Regions from separate parts of the Homo sapiens genome. Here regions 1 and 2 are each linked to region 3. Evidence: promoter capture Hi-C in 16 types of primary human blood cells and fetal thymus (Javierre and others, 2016). All regions are on one chromosome and are shown on one strand. Each heading gives the region's core, a stretch centred on a gene start or on the middle of the fragment in contact. The rest is flanking DNA. Distances are from core to core; before and after follow the strand shown. Region 1 overlaps SMARCC2 (SWI/SNF related BAF chromatin remodeling complex subunit C2). Region 2 holds the start of MYL6B (myosin light chain 6B). Region 3 holds the start of TIMELESS (timeless circadian regulator).

The links. Contacts are between HindIII fragments. The CHiCAGO score rates a contact against its expected background, and 5 or more counts as called.
Region 1: a fragment that was not itself captured here is called in contact with the fragment with the promoter of TIMELESS in region 3 in 2 of 17 cell types (M1 macrophages and naive B cells); the score reaches 5.3 in M1 macrophages.
Region 2: a contact is called between the fragment with the promoter of MYL6B here and the fragment with the promoter of TIMELESS in region 3, in 3 of 17 cell types (naive CD4 T cells, total CD4 T cells and total CD8 T cells). The highest score is 6.9, in naive CD4 T cells.

What each region holds. Positions count from the first base shown.
Region 1 is chr12:56,176,114-56,180,562 of GRCh38, forward strand. SMARCC2 (SWI/SNF related BAF chromatin remodeling complex subunit C2) reads right to left here. Exons shown (of 29, transcript NM_001330288.2): 12 at 2,884-2,943; 13 at 2,697-2,734; 14 at 2,291-2,421; 15 at 1,909-1,980. Among named protein-coding and RNA genes, the nearest start is that of SMARCC2, 11 kb to the right of the region's middle. The HindIII fragment of the contact is 1,116 bases long and covers 2,099-3,214 here.
Region 2 is chr12:56,150,428-56,155,277 of GRCh38, forward strand. MYL6B (myosin light chain 6B) reads left to right here and starts at 2,160. Exons shown (of 8, transcript NM_002475.5): 1 at 2,160-2,204; 2 at 3,446-3,665; 3 at 4,386-4,413; 4 at 4,628-4,771. The coding sequence starts at 3,492. It overlaps LOC124902942, which reads left to right and starts at 1,400. Exons shown (of 3, transcript XM_047429954.1): 1 at 1,400-1,620; 2 at 1,979-2,204; 3 at 3,382-3,470. The coding sequence starts at 1,567. The coding sequence ends at 3,416. MYL6B-AS1 (MYL6B antisense RNA 1) reads right to left here. Exons shown (of 3, transcript NR_186043.1): 3 at 369-558. It overlaps LOC124902943 (a long non-coding RNA gene), which reads right to left and starts at 3,446. Exons shown (of 2, transcript XR_007063328.1): 1 at 2,702-3,446. RefSeq lists an enhancer at 1,234-1,313. The HindIII fragment of the contact is 15,658 bases long and covers 1-4,850 here.
Region 3 is chr12:56,447,231-56,451,615 of GRCh38, forward strand. It overlaps TIMELESS (timeless circadian regulator), which reads right to left and starts at 2,196. Exons shown (of 29, transcript NM_003920.5): 1 at 2,080-2,196. It overlaps MIP (major intrinsic protein of lens fiber), which reads right to left. Exons shown (of 4, transcript NM_012064.4): 4 at 2,272-4,235. The coding sequence ends at 4,050. RefSeq lists enhancers at 1,077-1,597, 1,620-1,739, 1,850-1,939. The HindIII fragment of the contact is 959 bases long and covers 1,579-2,537 here.

The DNA of each region.
Region 1 (4,449 bases), core at 1,407-3,906, 270 kb before region 3:
CCCAAAGTGCTGGAATTACAGGCGTGAGCCACCATGCCCAGCCATCATTTACTATTTTATACCAAGAGTTCAGTTCCTACTCCAACCCTGCCTGCATGTCATGTTGAATTCATTTCACCTGATCACTACTTTCTTTTCACACATACTGCTTTCTCCAGGAAGAGAAGGAAGAGAGAACCATAGCAAGCTATGAAGAAAAAACACGGAGGGACCCCCAGAGAGGGGAAGCTGTGGAATAGCTGGGAAGAAAACTTGTTCAGTTCTCAGTCTCACCCACCTCATCAATGTGGTTATCTTGAAGTATTCCTAACCAAAGAAGACTGCCATGTCTTATCCAAAGCCAAGCAGGTTTGGCCTGAGGCAAAATCTTTTTTTTTTTCTTGAGACGGAGTCTTGCTCTGTCGCCCAGGCTGGAGTGCAGTGGCGCAATCTCGGCTCACTGCAAGCTCTGTCTCCCAGGTTCATGCCATTCTCCTGCCTCAGCCTCCCAAGTAGCTGGAACTACAGGCGCCTGCCACCACGCCCAGCTAATTTTTTTTTTTTTTGAGACGGAGTCTCGCTCTGTCACCCCGGCTGGAGTGCAGTGGCGTGATCTCGGCTCACTGCAACCTCTGCCTCTCAGGTTCAAGTGATTCTCCTGCCTCAGCCTCCAGACTAGCTGGGACTACAGATGCATGCCACCACGCCCGGCTAATTTTTTTTGTTTTTGTTTTTTTGTTTTTTTTGAGACGGAGTTTCACTCTTGTTGCCCAGGCTGGAGTGCAATGGCGTAATCTCGGCTCACTGCAACCTCCGCCTCCCGGGTTCAAGCGATTCTCCTGCCTCAGCCTCCCTAGTAGTTGGGATTACAGGCACGTGCCACCACGCCCAGCTAGTTTTGTATTTTTAGTAGAGACGGGGTTTCTCCATGTTGGTCAGGCTGAGCTCGAACTCCTGACCTCGGGTGATCCGCCCGCCTCAGCCTCCCGAATTGCTGGGATTACAGGCATGAGCCACCGCGCCTGGTCTTTTTAGTAGAGATGGGGTTTCATCATGTTAGCCAGCATGGTCGCGATCTCCTGACCTTGTGATCCGCCCGCCTCGGCCTCCCAAAGTGCTGGGATTACAGGCGTGAGCCACCACACCCAGCCTTGTTCATTAATTTTTTTAGATACGGGGTCTTGCCGTGTCAGCCAGGCTGGAGAGCAGTGGTGTGATCATGGCTCACTGCAGCCTCAAACTCCTGGGCTCAAGCAATCTTCCCATTTCAGCTTCCGAAGTAGCTGGGACCACAGGTATGCCCCACCAGGCCCAGCTAATTTTTTTTCACTTCTTTAGAGATGGGAGTCTTGCTATGTTGCTCATGCTATTCTTGAACTCCTGGCCTCAAGGAATCCTTCTGTCTCAGTGTCCCAAGTAGCTGGGATGATTTACAGTCGTGAGCCACCGTGGCTCCTACACTTCTTTCCCAGTGAGCCCTCTCCATCCCTTAATTTATATAAACTGGTCTTCTATTAGTTCCTTCTCTTGTTTTTCTATTAAAACCTACTCTCAGGAACCAGCCTGGTAATAGTAATTTACACTTTAATCAAAACTTTTGTGCTAGGAATATCTGCAGTATAGACGATATCAGTAATATGGATTTAAAGGCTCTATACCCTGTTAAAAAGAAGTTGAGGCACTGGAGTAGGTACTTGTTATGTATAGAACATGCTTAATATCACCCTTGGGCAAATCCTAAAGAACATGTGTCTACATGCTAGGCCAGGGCTGCCTAAAGGCAGATATTGTGCCTTTGTAAGCCTAGCATAGTGCCTGGCTCATGGAAGATGCTCAAGAAATGTTTGCTAAACTGAATGTTACTGGATCAGGAAGGGTGAATGTGGGGACAGGAGGGAGAAGGAGAATCATGAGATGAGATTTCCTTACATCTCTGGAGTCTTGGACTTGTTCTTGCCGTTGAAGAACTCGGGGAGAGCCCTCCGCTCAATGGCATGAACACTGCAAGAAAAGCCAGAATGGTTTCAGAAGAAGGCATTGGTGAAGGGATGGGGGCCCCAAAGGGAGGAAAAGCCTAGAAGGCAAAGAAGGAAAAGAGCTCGAAATTGCTGAAGTTAGAAGCTTGGGGAGAACATCCCACAGGCTGTAAGACTCAAAAGGACACAAGGAGCTCCCCTAAAACTAAAGTGTACTCTGGTCTATTTGGGTGAGGAAAAAATAACTTATTTGGAGGAGGCAGGGAGAAGAACAGCCTGTTGACCCCTGGAGGCAGGGAAATAAGGACTCAGTGAGAAGTTGGGGACAACCATACCTATTGTAGTCAAACCAGGCAGCGTAGCTGGGAATGATGATGTGGTGGGTCTGTTCAGTCACATTGTCCTCATGCAGGTCTGGATTCTTGGTCTGCTCTCCCTTGTTCCCCGTACTGTTCTCATCCTCATCCTACGAGTATGGAGGCTGCTGGACACTCAGCATTCCTGCTTCCTCCCTAGCAACCCTCTGCTTCTCCCACACCCCAGGAATGTGGACACTAAAGATGGGTGATGGGACTGAGCAGTCATGGGCCCCAGGACTCTGAAAGGGTCAGAGTTTTGAACAAAGCTGGAATTAGTCTACAGTGGGTAAAGTCTGGGCAGTGAAAAGTTTGGGCAGAATGAACTTTATAATCACAAATCAGAATCACATAGAGAGGTAGGGCCTCTCTAAACTGGCTCCACCTTGCCCGTCGTCTCCATGCTTTCATCTTCCTGTTCATCTGAAAGAGAAAAACCAAGATGTAAGGCTGGAGCCTCCTGAGGGGCAAGAAAGCCCTACCAAAAGCCCATCAGGCTAGCGAAAAGGGGGCAGCTGAGCCCTCCCCTTCCCTTGGCTCTGACTGCCGTGCCCAAGAGGCTCCTGTCTTACCCAGGTCGGTCATGGTGCCGCCTTTGACTGGGGCCGACTCTGAGTCTTTCTTTGTGTTGACTGCGAAAACAGAGAGTCATTTTATCAGACAGATTTTGCCTAATTCAAGCCTTCAATTTAATAGTTCCAGACATCCTACTTTCTCCAAAAATTGTCTCCACCTGATTGCAAAATATAGTAATTCTCTCCAGTCACAATTATTCTAGGGCTTCAAACTTCTTGCTACTTTCCCCACTTCTCCAACCAAAAATTAATTTAACTTATTTCTCTATGTACATTCATAAATGATTCTTGTCTTTGACAGGCCTTTATCTCCATCTATGTATCTGTAAGCTTTTAATGGTCTGATACTGAATCTGACCAAATCACTCTGTGGAAGAATGGTTAAGTGTTAAACATTTTTGAAAGCAGAGGATACTTTCCTCAACTGAATTCATATACATATGCTCAGGAGCAAACATAGAGAAGAGAGAGAGCTGATTGATGAGGAGGTAGAAGCCAGAACTCTTCTTGGTGGCAGCCCTAATCCTACCCCTGAAATACACTTCTGGAATACCTGGGGTGAGTCTACAGAATACAGACTGTAAACCAGTATTGGTGGAGCAATGTCTCCAAAGTGGGGTTCTAACATAGGACGCAAAAGATGATCCACTGCAACTCAGGGAGAGAATACAGAACTTCTCTTCATGTTTTTTGTTTTGTTTTTTTGAGACGGAGTCTCGCTCTGTCGCCCAGGCTGGAGTGCAGTGGTGCGATCTCGGCTCACTGCAACCTCCACCTCCCAGATTCAAGTGATTCTCCTGCCTCAGCCTCCCGAATAGCTAGGATTACAGGCGCCCACCACCACGCCTGGCAAATTTTTGTATTTTTCGTAAAGATGGGGTTTCACCGTGTTAGCCAGGATGGTCTTGATCTCTTGACCTCGTGATCCGCCTGCCTCGGCCTCCCAAAGTGCTGGGATTACAGGCGTAAGCCACCGCGCCCTGATTCTTCATGTTTGTTTTTATCATTCTTTACATTTTTCAATTTTTTAGATATGTTTGTGTTTTAAAACGTTCCCATGGTAGCGGCTTAACAGTACAAGTACATAATTAATGCATATATACATTTTTTTTTCTTTTTTTTTATTTGAGATGGAGTCTCGCCCTGTTGCCCAGGCTGGAGTGCAGTGGCGTGATCTCAGCTCACTGCAAGCTCCGCCTCCCAGGTTCACGCCATTCTCCTGCCTCAGCCTCCTGAGTAGCTAGGACTACAGGCACCCGCCACCACGCTCAGCTAATTTTTTTGTATTTTTGGTATAGACAGGGTTTCACCATGTTAGCCAGGATGGTCTCGATCTCCTGACCTCGTGATCCGCCCACCTCGGCCTGCCAAAGTGCTGGGATTACAGGCATGAGCCACCGTGCCCGGCCCTTTTTTTTTTTGAGATGGAGTTTTGCTCTTGTCGCCCAGGCTGGAGTGCAGTGGTACAATCTCGGCTCCCTGCAACCTCTACCTCCCAGGTTCAAGCAATTCTCCTGCCTCGGTCTCCCGAGTAGCTGGGATTACAGGTGCCCACCACCACGC
Region 2 (4,850 bases), core at 910-3,409, 300 kb before region 3:
TCAGTTTGAGACTGGGTAACACAGTGAGACCTCATTTCTAGAAAAAAACAAAACCAAAGAAAAATAAGAATATACAAATCACATGCTAAGCAGGGAGAGGAGAGAGGAGAGACAGGCATTTCTCACAGATAATTCACATATATAATCACCCTATGCCCAGTTAAGACCATGTTTCGTCCAGTTCCTGTTATTTATGATCAAGACAGGGATGGCACAGAAAATGAAGGATAGCCTTCCCATCTCTGCAAGGGTCTTAACGTTTTTTCCCTGTACTACTTCTCTATAGAAAATGCTAGAAAGTCAGATGATGCCATAACCACTCATACTTGGCAAAATGCCAAAAATGGGAAAAGGAAAGAAAAAAAATTACAAGAGCCATATTTTGAAATCAATGTCTGCAAAAGTAATGAAAGCCACACAAAGGCATCTATAATGTGGCCCTTTCCCAGTCTTATAACCACTTAAAAATGTATTCCTTCTTCCTCTCCGTCTCTTCACAACACCTATTGATCCTTACTTCATTGATGTAAAATGGGGAAAATATCAGCGACCTCATACCTTGGGAAGATTAAAGGAAAGTTATTTAACAAAAACTTATACAGCACTTATGCTGTGCCAGGCCTATTCTATTTTACACTTTTTTTTTTTTTTGAGTTGGAGTCTCACTCTGTCACCCAGGCTGGAGTGCAGTGGTGCGATCTCGGCTCACTGCAACCTGCCGGGTTCAAGTGATTCTCCGACCTCAGCCTCCCAAGTAACTGAGATTACAGGCGCCCGCCACCAGGCCCAGCTATTTTTTTTTTTTTTTTTTTTTTTTTTTTTTTTTGTATTTTTAGTAGTGACAGGGTTTCACCATGTTGGCCAGGCTGGTCTCGAACTCCTGACCTCAGGTGACCCACCTGCCTCGCCTCCCAAAGTGCTGGGAGGTGTGAGCCACCAAGCCCGGCCCTATTTTACCAATAATAACACTTCGAATCCTCCGAAGAGCCCTATGAGGTAGGTACCATTATCATTATTTTACAGATGAGGAACTGAGGCCCAGGAGAGATAACTAAACCTGCTGAGGGTCACTAACTAGGACCTGGTAGAACCAGGATTTAAATCTGAGTAGGCTGTCTGAACCCCATCCACTTGAGCACCCTCTGAGATAATTTAGCCCCTTCACCGGTACGAGATCTATGGCGGCCTCCAGAAATGGTTGCTAACTTACTATTATCGTTATTTCTGTCGTACAATTCATTTCTACCTTTCCAATAAACTTTCCCCAACCAGTGAACCTCACTTACTGCCCATAAAGTTCACCTGTGCCTCACCACCCTGCCATCGCCCGAGTTTTCTGCTCTGATCTAATCCTCACACGCCTGTGCAGCACCAGCTTCCAACACCAGGTGCACCGCCAGGGTATTTACTGATCCAGTGAGTGAAGGTGGGCCCGGCCGGGCTGGTTCCCATCCTCTGATCAACGCCTAGGGGAACCAGTGAACTCCAATGCTGACCATAAGAGTTTCAGAAAGTAGGGCTGGAAAGCCCAGCCCTCCGCTCAGAGACCTGTGAAGATCGAGGAGGATGGCGCATATGCTGCCGCAGGATGGAAACCTCGATCAGAGAAGGCTGGGGCAGGTGACTGGGCTTAATTGCAAATTTTAACATTTACTTCAGCAACCAGCTCATTAAAAACAAACTACTCTGAGGCCTCTTTTTTTTCTACCAAACCGCGAGAGGAAGCAAAAGAGAGTGCAGCGGTTCTCCCCGGGGCCGTTAAGTGCTTCCAGCTATCTGACCTCCACGCTGCCTGCTGCAGCCTCAATCTTTCCCCAGGTTCTGAGTTCTTTCAGCAGTAGGTCCAGGAAAACAGCCGCCCCGCCCCCTCCACCTCCCGAGACTAGGAGCCCGCCAGGGTTAAGTAGGAGGGATACCCTAGGGGCCCCGCAGGGTTTTTAGGGTTGGGGTGGATTGGAAATTGTTCATTGCCTTTCAGTTCCGGGACATAAAGCGCGCTGGAAGGACACTGAGTCACCAACCACCGCCATGGGCCGGAAGCCACCGCCCTCGCGTCAACTGCAATCTAGAGCGCGGCGCATCCCGTGAGCCCGCGGGGAACTACGACTCCCGGCATGCTCCGCGGCCACCGGAATTAACCCTTCAGGGCTGGGGGCCGCGCTATGCCCCGCCCCCTCCCCAGCCCCAGACACGGACCCCGCAGGGTGAGTTTTTGGGGGCTGAGGAGGGCCATTTTCTTTAAGATTTAGTGGGGGTGCGTGAGTGTGTGTGTGTGTGTGTGTGTCGTGTGTGTGTGATGTATTTTGTAAAAATGGGACAATTTGCAGTCATGAGATTCAGACGCTGTTTTGCGAATGGGAGACCCAGCATCAACCCCGGGGCCTAAGTGGAATCACTGCTATCTTCCTCAGAATGCTACCTAAATCCTTTCCTAATTTACCCCAGAACAAAAGTAGCCTGCAATCCCTCCCCACTCCCAAACGCCCCCCAACTTGGACTCTCTCCCAGCGCCCCTGGCAAGGTTTGTGACCTGGCCCCTGAGTCAGGATTTTTATTATACCCCTGGTTGTGGGGTGAATACTCATGGAGCCATAGGAGCGCCCACATCCTCTTGGATTAGGGAATTTAAGCCGTCTCCCAGAGCCTGCCCTTCTCCTCAGGTGCCACCAAAGGGTCCCCACAGGTTCAGCAAGCACCCTACCTTTTGTTTGTCTTGAATGACCGTGGGCTTGTGGAAGGTTTCTTCCATGGAAGAATGGGTAGCAGATGTTAAACCTGATCTTTGCCCCCACTCCTGCCCCTAAAACAACACTGGGCACAGGAGACAATGAGGGATGTCATACTCCTGTTTTTATGACTATTCTTCCTTTATACTGTGAATAGTTCCAGTTCTTGGCTGGGTGGGGGCTCAGGAACTACAAGTATTAGGGATCATTAGACTCTAAGGTTAACTACCCCTGCTCTTTACAAAGCCATGGTCAGAAGGGAGTGGAGGGGCTGGGCAGATGGGCTTCTTGTTTTTGTCATTGCTCCCAGACCACACTTTAACTTGTTCCAGTTCACACAAGCCTCCCTGGCTGCTACCCCTCACCCCACCCTTCAAGAAGACTAAAGCTGCTGGATCACCTGCTTTGCCTCACCACCCCCATCTCAGTGCCACTGGCAAGCATCCTATCCTCACCCTGGAGGTTAACTACCTCATTCTGGGCAGTCTCTGGCTTCCTCCCCTACCCCTAAAGGAAACATTGTTCTTTTCTGGTCAGCCTTTGGGGATAAGGGGACAGAGGGAAGAAGACCTTGGGGCAGGAGTCCTGAACCATAGGAGGCCAGGGGAGTGAGGGCAGGCGGTTATATCTCTCCTCTACCTCATCTTTGCCACAGCCAACTGGCTCCCTGCCCCTGCCCCCGCCCCTTGACATCCCAGACTCCCTGGCTATTTAAACAGAGATGGGTGCCCCCATCCGCACACTGTCCTTTGGCCACCGGACATCATGCCTCCCAAGAAGGATGTTCCCGTGAAGAAACCAGCAGGGCCCTCCATCTCCAAACCTGCTGCTAAGCCAGCAGCAGCAGGGGCTCCTCCAGCCAAGACCAAAGCTGAGCCAGCTGTCCCCCAGGCCCCTCAGAAAACCCAGGAGCCTCCAGTCGATCTCTCCAAAGTGGTGGTGAGTCTCTGGAAAGTGAAGATAGAATTGGAGGGGGTGGTTTGAGGGTGGGATACAGCCTAGGGGATTAGGGGGTATCTAGAAGGTAGGGAATCAGTGAGCCCTGGAATGAGATTGGGGCTTTCCCTTAGTCCCCCATTTGGAAGCATCCAGTCTTATGACTCTGCTGTTGTCTTTGCTGTTCTCTCCCTCTAACCTATAATCATGTGTGTACAGCACATACACACTCACTTACCCCCTGCTGGAGGCAGGGACTCTTAGATGGGGAACATCTGGGTTCTGAGAACAGTTTCAAGGTGAAGGGAAGAGAGCTGTTGCCTGCCCCTGGCTGGTGGTTCAATTCAAAAGGCCTGCAGCTCTGAACTCCAGGAGGGGAGGCTGAAGAGGACAGACTTGTTAGACAATCACAGCTGGGGGCCAGGGGTAAATTTAGCCTTTGTTCAGCCCCCAGTTATGTGTGGGATGCAGGGCTCAGGGCAATGGAGGGAGGGAAACAGGTGGCATGGGATTAACCCTGTTCCCAGGAAACCCTCCCCACTGTAATTCCTCTTCTTGGGATTCTCCCAAGGCCCAGAGCTGGGAATGGGACTGAGGTGGCTGGGCTTCCAGCCTGGTCCCTTTGGGCCCCTCCTCAGAAGTGGCTGCCAGTTGGTTGGGAGGAGTGCGGGAGAGGGATTGAATAAACTCTCATCTCTCCCCACCTGCTTTTTTCTTCCACAGATCGAGTTTAACAAGGACCAGCTGGAGGGTGAGGAGAAGCTCATCTAAGGCCACTGTCCCATCCCCAATCCCCTGGTCAGATTCTCTTTCTATTCCCCTAACCCCAGTCCTGACCTTGAAACCTCCCATACTAGTCCTCTTTTCCTCCCTTGTTCTGTTCACATAGTTTCTGAAATTCCCTTCTGTCTGGGGGTGATGGGAACCCTAGTCAGTGTCTACACTGACCCTTCCTTATACTTTAGAGTTCAAGGAGGCCTTCGAGCTGTTTGACCGAGTGGGGGATGGCAAGATCCTGTACAGCCAGTGTGGGGACGTGATGAGGGCCCTGGGCCAGAACCCCACCAACGCCGAGGTGCTCAAGGTCCTGGGGAACCCCAAGAGTGATGGTGAGGGGACCCTTGGGAACAATTTGGGTTTTTAGTTTTCAAAAGTTGGATGTTGGTAACAAAAAGAATGAGGTGGATC
Region 3 (4,385 bases), core at 946-3,445:
TCACCCTTGAACTTTCAGAGCCTTGCTACAGGATCAGAATTTCCAGCGATGGGGCTTAGGCAAGTGTTTTGACAATGTTCCTCAGGTGATTCTAACTATCCTATGTTAACTGCACGAAAACGTAAACTCTTTCACATCAGGAATCATCATTACGCAGCACAATGTAAGTGCTCAATAAATGCTTTACTAAATTGAACTGAAACAGAGAAGTCTGGAAGATGAGGGAGAAGAGTTTGGAGCTAAAGATTTGGAGGCATCAGGATGTAAGATGGTGTGAGTGCAGTGAGAGGAGGAAGGAAGCCAGGAAGGACTTCTTGATGACCCTTTCACTGTAACCACAGAAGACTCAATTACATGTGTTTTCCTTAGGACTTGAGTTCCTTAAGGGTCGGGAACTCTCCATCCTACTCATCTCTGTAAGCCTGGCGCTAAGCACAGTGCATGGTACATGTTAGGAGCTCAGTAACCTTTTATTGATCTTTTATTGAGCTGTATCAGTGCCCCTGGTAATAGAGGGGGGTAAAAAACTTCAGGGACACACAGGAAGAAGTGACTAACTTGGCATAGGAAGCTGGATACATTGATTTTCAGAGGGACAATTAAGCTCAGTCTTCAAAGAGAAGTTCGCTTGGCAGAGCAGTGTCAAGATCTTCCAAGCAGAAGGAACAGCAGGAACTAAGTACTGAGATATGAAAGAGGGCAGCCACAATCTTTCCACGTGGCCAGGAGTCAGGTGCGTAAGAGATTTACAAAATGAGATTGAGAGGGTCAGGGCCAGACTGAGAGGCCACAGACACCCACCTACGGATTTAAGGCTAACTGTGGGTGGTCAAAGAGGAGTTTTAAATTTAACATCAGATGATCTACCTTTACTTTGTACAAAGTACTAGTAGGGCCGGGTGTGGTGGCTCACACCCGTAATCCCAGCACTGTGGGAGGCCGACGCGGGCGGATCATTTGAGGTCAGGAGTTCGAGACCGGCCTGGCCAACATGGTGAAACCCCATCTCTACTAAAAATACAAAAATTAGCCGGGCGTGGTGGCGGGCAGCTGTAATCCCAGCTCCTGGGGAGGCTGAGGCAGGAGAATCGCTTGAACTGGGGAGGCGGAGGTTGCAGTGAGCCGAGATCGGACCACTGCACTCCAGCCTGGGCGACAGAGCCAGACTCCATCTCAAAAACAAAACAAAACAAAACAACCAAAAAAAACAAACAGGCCAGGCGCGGTGGCTCACGCCTATAATCCCAGCACTTTGGGAGGCCGAGGCGGGCGGATCACGAAGTCAGGAGTTTGAGATCATCCTGACCAATAAGGTGAAACCCCCATCTCTACTAAAAAAAATACAAAAATTAGCCGGGCATGGTGGCGCGCGCCTGTAATCCCAGCTACTCAGGAAGCTGAGGCAAGAGAATCGCTTGAACCCGGGAGGCGGAGGTTGCAGTGAGCCGAGATGGCGCCACTGCACTCCATCCTGGGCGACAGAACGAGACTCCGTCTCAAAATAAAATAAAATAAATAAAAAATTGAAAGTACTAGTCGAAGCACGAATGGCAAAGAATTGAGAGGCTCAAGGAAAAAAGCTTCATTAGCGGCTGAGGTCCAGGTGACAAACCCGAACAAGGCAACGAAGGGAGGGAGTGAGAAATCCGTTCCATAAAACCCACGATATAAGTAAAGCGGCCTGTGAATTCCGACCACTGCTGACCGCCAGGCCACACACCGGTTTTTTTCAGGAGGTCTCAACTAGATGCTAAGCTCCGAAGTGGAACTCCCTCAGGCACTTTCTGTTCTAATTCAGGAATTCCAAGCCCCTTTCCATCACAACCCCATCCCGCGGGAGACCCAAGCTGTGCGGAGCAGCGTAGGGCTAAGCCCGCGTCCGGTGAGACCCGGGAACGCGGCGCGGGAGACTAAGGAGCAGAGTACAGAATTGCGCGTGCGCGCCTGCAGCACGAGCCCCGCCCCCTGGCTCTAAACCGGGTGGCGGGAAAAGGGACTCAGCGTTTCCCGAGAATGCCCCCATAGCTTCGAAAGGATCCCCGTGTCCGCTTAGCGCCCTCTCGCCACACACTCACTCACCCGCTCCCTGCGGGTCCTCAGAAGCCCGGAGGAGCCACCGGCCCTCTGGCGCGGGGCCGCAGCCTTTCCGCCACCAGGCTCAGCTGGACCGGTCCCCGCCTGCGCGAAGAGCGAGGCGGGGCGAGCCGGGCTGGTCCACGTGACTCCGAGCGAACTGGGGCGGAGATTGGTGAAGAAGGAAGGAAAAGGGAAGCGAGTGCAGGGACTGTTTTATGTGAGGTCGATCTAAAAATCACAGCGCTATGAATTTTCTGCTGAATTATAGTAGAATCAAAGTCCGATTAGAGGTGAATTTACAAACATTCTTCCCCTTCTTCTAGTCAAGCGGACTATTCCAAGTCTTAAATAGTTAGTTAGAAAAGTTAGGTTTTATTTGGGAGGAAGTAAAGAGCTGAAGTACAGGGAGGAATGGTCTTCTGGGATAGGGGATGTCCGTTGTATTATAGGTATAAATTTAAAGCTTTCAAAGTATGCAAGAGGCTCATAAAAGGAAGAAAGCAACCGTAAATATTCATTGAACAGTTGAGGGTCTCTTCTGGCCTCTGCTGAGATGATCTTGCCAAAAGGAAAAGAAAATAGGGCTGTGCTCTGGCCCCCTGTAATCCCAGCTACTGGGGAGGCTGAAGCAGGAAGATCGCTTGAGCCCAGGATTTCTAGACTGTAGTGTGCGATGATCGTGCCTGTGAATATCCATTGCACTCCAACCTGGTCAACATAGTAAGACCCCCTCTCAAAAAAAAAAAGAAGATAGGGCTCAAACAAATAATAATCTCCTGAATTATTAAGCATTTGAATAGAAGGAATCAATTTCTGGGGTATGAGGGAGTTAGAAGAGATTTGCTTCAAGATGAAAGGACGGATGACAGAGAAATGAAAATACACAGACACAAAACAAGAAAAAAAACACGGAACTAGTGATAAAAGCAGAAAGATGCCATTTGAGGAGTGTTTTGATTTGCTCTAAATAAATTAGAACAGAGTCAAAGCCTCTCCCCTCATGCCCCCTACTACCACCCGTTCATTTATTTGCTCCAGGAATCAGATTTCCTGTGTTGGCCTTAGGGAACAATTGTGGGGCTTAAATACCATCTGCCAGGCAGCCACAACAGTGGATGTCAGGCTGACCAGTTAAGCTGCTTAATTTTTCTAGATTCTAGGCTTGCCCAAGCTCTATTTAGGTTGGAAGCTCTTTGGCCCAGGACCTCTGAAGAGATCCATTATGTCAGAATGAACACAACCAGCCAGCGGATGTAGACAGGTTTACGTGGCTTTACAGAACAGCTAAATCCTAGTGTTCACTTTTCTCAGAGCTACTTCCCCACCCAAGTCCCTGGGGCAAGCATCCCTAAGATAAGTAGGCTATATATTCCCATTAACTTCCCCCCAATTCTTCGGTACACCTACATCCTGATCTGGGGCTAATACTCCGTTTTCACCACCCACCTCCCTTGAGTCCCTTCTCCTAACCCTTGGAAGCCTTGTCTCCTCCACTTCTCTCCATCTGCCTCGTGTGAGGAGTAACTCCCTGCTTCTCTGTTCCCTCAGAAATCAAGAGCCACACACTTGACTGGCAGCAGGGTAAAGGCCAGAAACTTAAGGTGTCGGTTACCCAGTACTCACCATACTGGGTCGAGGAAGGGAGGTATAGGATGGCACCTCTTTTTGCTTCCTTAGCTCTCATGCCCCAAAACTCAGACACAGCCACACTCACATTCATATGCACAATCAGCACACACGGCGAAGGGTGGTGGGATGGGGAGGAAGGGAAGTTTGCACCAACCAGCTCATGAATGCAACTTGAAAGATTTCACACAGCAAAAGGAAAAAAAAAAAAAAAACAACCACATACATAAGTTAAAAAATAAAGAAGTACATGACCCTCCCCACAGTCTCTTTCTTCATCTAGGGGCTGGCTAAACCCCTCCACGTAAACTCAGAAGCTTTCTACTCCCTCTATTCAGCTGGAGCTTCTACAGGGCCTGGGTGTTCAGTTCAACAGGTTCCCCTGTGACCTCTGGTTGTCCATTGGAGACATCGGGTTTGGCACCCTTGAGGACAGACAGTCTCTCAGAAATACTCTTGAGCCGGGGGAAGAGAAGAAAGTCGTACAGGAGGCTGCCCAGACCCCCTCCAATGATTGGGCCTACCCAGTACACCTGTAGAAAGAGAAAAGGAATACTCAGGCTTGGGGAGGGGACAGAGTAGCAACGCTGCTCTTTTTCCAGCCACCTTAGTGGAAAACAAGATATTGTACACTTGATATCTACAATAAACTCACCATTTATTTTCTGATTCATCAAATTACT